Linked DNA regions of Homo sapiens: region 1 is linked to region 2. The links are contacts of gene promoters, found by promoter capture Hi-C in blood cells and fetal thymus (Javierre and others, 2016). All regions are on one chromosome and are shown on one strand. Each heading gives the region's core, a stretch centred on a gene start or on the middle of the fragment in contact. The rest is flanking DNA. Distances are from core to core; before and after follow the strand shown.

Evidence for each region. Contacts are between HindIII fragments. The CHiCAGO score rates a contact against its expected background, and 5 or more counts as called.
Region 1: a contact is called between a fragment that was not itself captured here and the fragment with the promoter of ITGA4 in region 2, in 1 of 17 cell types (total B cells). The highest score is 5.7, in total B cells.

The regions. Positions count from the first base shown.
Region 1 is chr2:182,718,167-182,721,194 of GRCh38, reverse strand. DNAJC10 (DnaJ heat shock protein family (Hsp40) member C10) reads right to left here. Exons shown (of 24, transcript NM_018981.4): 3 at 2,905-3,028; 4 at 1,026-1,188. Among named protein-coding and RNA genes, the nearest start is that of DNAJC10, 3.4 kb to the right of the region's middle. The HindIII fragment of the contact is 3,267 bases long and covers 1-2,950 here.
Region 2 is chr2:181,455,912-181,459,082 of GRCh38, reverse strand. ITGA4 (integrin subunit alpha 4) reads right to left here and starts at 1,697. Exons shown (of 28, transcript NM_000885.6): 1 at 1,232-1,697; 2 at 766-887. The coding sequence starts at 1,428. RefSeq lists enhancers at 651-700, 1,061-1,110, 1,171-1,360, 2,081-2,190 and a silencer at 1,511-1,900. The HindIII fragment of the contact is 9,740 bases long and covers 1-3,171 here.

The sequences.
Region 1 (3,028 bases), core at 68-2,567, 1.3 Mb before region 2:
TAAAATACTTCATTTAGTCTAATACAGAAGCATATTCAGTTCTTAGCCTGCATTTGAGGTTAATTAATGACTAGGAGAAACACTGGGTCTCTGAACACACCTTCCTCCCTTGATACCTGTGTGTTTACAATCTCTCTTCCTTAGTTCCTTTACTTTGTTTCCTCCTTCCACCTTATTTTTTCCTCCATGTTTAAGAAAAAAAACACCTTTCGTCCTTCTCATATGGAACCTTTATTGATAATGTTTCAAGGTATTGACCTTAATGTCAACCGAAGGCCAAAACACCTTAAAAATCAGTAAGGGTTCCATATGAGAAGGACGGCATTTCTATTGAAGAGATCATTACTAAACTTGAAGTTTCGCCTTTCTTGGACAATATGATGCTCTAAAATATATTGAAAGAAATTAATATTATTCAATACTAAAAAATACTGAAAGAAATATTTAGCTACCCCTAATGCAAACATATAGTCATACATCACTTACTAATGGGACACATTCTGAGAAATGTGTTGTTAGGGAATTTTGTTGTTGCAAAAACATCACAGAGTGTACTTACACAAACCTAGATAGTATAGCTTACTACACACCTAGTCTACAAATCTGTACAGCATGTTACTGCTGAATACCATAGGCAACTGTAACACAATGCTAAGTATCTTTGTATTTAAATATAGAAAAGGTACAGTAAAAATATGGTATTATAATTTCATGGGACCAATGTCCTACATACAATCCATTGTTAAGTGAAATGTCATTATGCAGTCCATGAATGCATATTTTTTATTAAATAGCAATCCTTATTTTAAAAGTATTTAACAAGATTTAACCAATACAACTTCATATCTGTACAGATCATCTCTGTATACCAACTGACATTCCTTTTAAATTTCACTCCCACAGCAAATTAAAAGGAGCTAATCAAAGTGACGCATCTTAAATATATAAGCTAAGTGGTGAAACAGAATTCACTTTTCTTTTACTCAGATAAAACACATTTCATAAGTAATATCGTATCACCTTACCAAAATCATAACGATAATAGTTCCAGCTTTCATACTGGCCACCTTGATTATCCTCAAGTCCCTTTTCTCCATATTTGTCATACTTTTTCCGTAGATCTTCATCTTTGAGTACTTCATATGCTCTATTTATTTTTAAAAAATCGCCATGTGCATTTGGGTTATTCTGTTAAAAAATATTAGATATAATACAATTATTTCAGATACACAATCCAAGTTTCTTCAAAACATATATGTAGGTTTAATTAATCTAGTAACTTCTGGGAGACCATATACCAACATAAGGAGGGGTAATACAACATGACATGAGTTACCATGGGTTGAAATGAAGTATTTTTTAAGAAACTATAATCTTCAAAAAAAAAAAAAAAAAAGTAAGAAAAGTAATGAAATAATTGACTCTTCAAAAGGTTGACAGACGTTATCAGACCATGAGTTATTCTTCCTAAAAAATGCAGCTGAAAATAATAAGCCTGTTGAAACTCTTAATTTCATAAATATTTTTTACTCCTATAACAATTATAAATCAATACATTTGTAGGTTATTTTTCTATTTGAGGTAAAATCAACTTAATTAAAAAAGGATGTGCCCCAATCTATCAGCTAATTACATAAAAGCCAGTATCAGAAAACACCCCAAAATCGATCCCAGTACTTTGGGAGACTGAGGAGGGTGGATCATTTGAGGTCAGGAGATCGAGACCAGCCTGGCCAACATGGTGAAGCCCCGTTTCTACTAAAAACACAAAAACTAGCTGGGCAGTAGTGACGCACGCCTGTAATCCCAGCTACTCAGGAGGGTGAGGCAGGGGAATTGCTTAAGCCTGTGATGCAGAAGTTGCAGGAAGCCGCTGGCGTCACTGCACTCCAGTCTGGGCAAGAGAGTGAGACCCTATCTCAAAAAAAAAAAAAAAAAAAAAAAGAAAACAATCCAAAATTGGATCGGAAATGTTTCTTCCTTGTTACTGTGCTTCATAAAATTTGTTTCTGAAGGATGCTTTCATTTAAATAATACTCGGATGGTAGAAGGTCTACTGTCTTTTATATGGAAACTTAAAAATCATTATTTGAAATTTTAAAGAAAAATTAAAAAAAAATAAAAACCTTAAATAGAATGTGGATCTTAGGAAAAGATAATCAACTAAACAATATTTAAAGAAATATTGTTTCTCTTGCTCAGCTTTATGCAATGAAAATAATCCTATTTTAAAACTTCTACCTAGAAAAGAGAAAATTATAACTATGTCTTCTTGTTAATGATGAACGCTAAATCTCACTAAGAAATAATCAAATAAATTACAAAAACACCATAAAAATTAAAATGAGTTTAGTTTTGAAAGATTTACATTAATGTGTACATAAATATTTATGACTGGCATTATATTCAGCTGCTGTGAAGTATTAATTTATAAAACTTTCTAACTCTGGTTTGTGGACTTGTGCATACACAGAAGAAAACAGTCAAAGTTAAAACATGCTATTATTAGCTATTACTTCTATTTTTAGCAAGTCATACCCTCTGAGTTTTAAAAAAATATTTTTGTTCCTGTTCTAAAACACTTGATCTTAACCTACTTTAATAAGAAAACTACTTCAACTACTTCACGGATATTATCGTTTGTTTTGGGGTTAATGTCTTTAATAGAATTGTTGGAAAATCGTCTACAAATTAAGAGGGAACTGAATTTTTGGTACTGACATTCCTTCACGGGATCCTAAATAATCCAGAACATTTTGGTGCTTTTGTTTCTAGCATACAAGTTGAATTATAATTTTGACATATGATTATTCTTAAGCATTTGATCATTTAAAGCAATTTAAATAAATATCAAAATGTACCAAAAATATAATCAAATATTTTTAAAAACAAACGTTTACCTACCGGGTTTTTATCAGGATGTAACTTCAATGCCAATTTCTTGAAAGCTTGTCTTATTTCTCTACTGCTTGCAGTTTTGGACACTCCAAGTAAACTGTAAAAATCCTGATCTGTGCCCACTAAAATG
Region 2 (3,171 bases), core at 448-2,947:
AACACTTTGGAACAAGATAGGTCTTGTTATTTAATATTCCTTCCTCTTTCCCCACTTGCCTGTGTGCAACAAACTTGTCTTTGGCTTTGAAACATGAAACTTCTCCCCTCTATCAGTACACATTTTTCAACTTGTCACAAATCTGAGACATTGAGAAATGACTGCAAAAAGATGGACCCATATAACATGAGTTTTGGATGACGGTTTTGGGAATGGAAAATTATACTACATTAACGATGAAGATGCCAATTTTCCTTTTCTTTTAGATTGTATATTGTAAGTAAAACTATCACTTTTTTTTTTAGGCCTTTAGGTTAAACGACGGGATATGGGATCAATTCCAATTGCTATTCCTGATATGCTCCTTAGCCTGTTCTTTAAGAGGGTTGATAGGTCAAAGATGGAAATAAAATTCTCAAGTCTTGGCTTAGCTGGATCCTGTCCTTAATACGCTGAGAGAGTCTAAAATGTGCTTTACACACGGAGAGACGGGGAGAGATGAAGAGAAGGTATCATAAGAAATTTCTCTAGCATAGTTGTCAGAGTACTGCAATCATTGCCATAAGGAAAAGGGAGAACGATATTAACAGAAAGGGAATCCCTTTTATATTAAGGAGGCAAGATGAGATGGAGTTGAAACTGAAAACTTTATGCTCTTTAAACCAGAAGTAACAGGCAACGTGAATCTTTCCAGGACTTGCCCTATGGTGGGGTCCACATGGGGGGTCGGGAGGTCACTAACTCCTGGTCCCATACCCAACTCACCCAGCTGGAGCTGTTCGCACGTCTGGCCGGGATTCTTTCCGATCCTGCATCTGTAAATCGCCCCGGGATTGATCACTGAAGCGTTGGCGAGCCAGTTGGCAGTGGGCGCACCCACTAGGAGCCTAAAGCGAGACACGTGCACGTGCGCTCAGACGTGAGCTGTGCTGCCCACTGAGCTCCCTGTCGCCACAGATGTGCAGTCCGCAGCAGGGCAGCTTCCCCACCTCCTCCTCCGCCCACCACCCCCGACTCGAAGCTCCAAGACCTTGCACCATAACGCACCCGGGGCGCTGCCGCCCCAAGATAAGTTAGTTTCCCTGGCAGATTTCCAGCGAGCTGGCTCTCGCAGCGTTTCCCTCCTGCCTCCTTGGGAGGGAGGAAAGTTTGAATCGGGCAGGGAATCCCTAGGGCGCCATTCTCACGCCGCTCTGAGCTGCTGAGGGCGCATCAGTCCAACTCTACTCACCATCGGTTCGCCCCGTGGCTGTGCAGCACGACCGAGTAGCCGAACAGCGTGTTGTGGGGGCCCTGGTAAAGCAGCGCGCTCTCAGTGTCCACGTTGTAGGGGCGGCCGGTCGGGACCCCCAGGCACAGCAACAGCATCACCGTCTCCCGGACGGCGGCCCTTCGGGGGCCGGGTTCGCGCCTCGCTTCCCAAGCCATGCGCTCTCGGTGGGGAACATTCAACACTAAACGGCCACTACCCCAAAGTTGCACGGGATGCGACGGTTGGCCAACGGGGAAGAACGCCCCAAGAGATGAGGCGCAGCGTGTCCGGCGCCAGCGGGCTAAAGGAAGGAGAGAGGGAAGAGGAGGGGAAGTCGGCCCACCGCGGGCGGAGCGTTCGGGCCGGCCTGGGATGCCGCGCACTCGCCCGGCCCCACTCCCGGTTTCTGCCGCCAGCCGGGAGCTTCGGGTGCTCGCGCTGCTTCTCCGGGTACGGGCCGCTGGGTGGGGTCCCGGGCGTGGTGCGGAGGCGCAGGGCCGGGCTCCGTCTCTGCCTACGCGCGGCTGCAGGGGGCGCTGGGGAACCTCGGCTGCGCAGGACTCGCGTCCTGGCCCGGGCCTCCCAGCCCGCAGAGCGCGGGATGGCTCTGGGCTCAGCAAGAGCGGACCTGATGGGGCACGGGCTTCCCCTTTTAACGGTGGTTGGGGCCTAGAAGCGGAGCTGTGTGACCCCAAACTGCGCGCCCCTCGCTGTGACCGCCCAGCCCGGCGTGGCCCAAATGCCAGCCACAAACTCGGGGAGTGGGACTGCGGCGGGGAGCCGTCCAGTTCTTTCGTTGATAGTTAAACACTGTGTCTTGTTTTTCAGGTGTAGGCAACCACTAGATAAATTATCAAGAGCCACAGATTAAAAACAAAAAACCAAACAAAAAGACTCGCCGAAGGCCCCTGGGGAACATTTTAGTGACAAAGACGTTATGGCTATTCTCTTCAAGACCCACATCTCAGCACCCTTCTATACCCACTTCCTTCCTCCCCACACTTCCTCTGCAGCCCGGGCTGCATGCGTGAGCAGGCTAGCAGCAGCCTCTCAGGCTGAACGGCAGGCGGTTTAGGCTGTGGCTGACCCCAACAGAGAGGTTGGGTTAAGGAAGCACTGTGACTTGATTCACTTTAACCGATTCGGATTGCTCCAGCTGGTAATTGATGATCCCCCCTTTTCACGCACCCACTCAGTTGCCACGGGACACACCTGCTTTTAGGGGTGTAAACCCCAGTGTGGGGTCAGGGTCCTAATGAGCCTCTGAAATGTGCCGGAGACCCACAACGCAACACACCTGAACTGGGTAGTGAGTCTCATTCTAATGCAATCCAGGTGTGCCCTGCCTTTTTTTTTTTTTTCCTTCAGCAACCAGAGAGACAGCCATAGGTGATTATTAGACTGATATTTTCAGGAGATGAAAGTCTAGTTTTTTATTGTTGCTATATGTAAAAAGAAAAGAAAAGTCTGCATCAAAGAGTGTGTCTGTGTGCTAAAACCATGCTGGAATAAATAACACATCTGACACTAATGACAGATACACAATTAAAATGCTTATTCATTTATTCAGCACATTCATGGAGCAGGCACTTGACTAGGACCACAGGATTCCACCAAGAGTAAGGCAGGACTGATACAAAGTTTCAAAAAATGTTCGCTCCAATGGTAGATAGAAAAATTTGTACTAACTAGAGAAAGATCCAGGTAAGGACACTTAAAGAGAGATTTGAAGGACCAGGAATCTTGAATCAGGCTAAGAATGGGATGAGCAATAAGGAGGGCTCCAGAGGAGCCAGGTAGAAGAACTGAGAGAGCTTGCCTGGCTAGAGTATTTAGCCACTCCACACACAGGTTGGTGTGATATGAGGCTGACTTAGGGAAGCAGGAATACATGGTGAACCTCATGAGCCAGGTTAGGA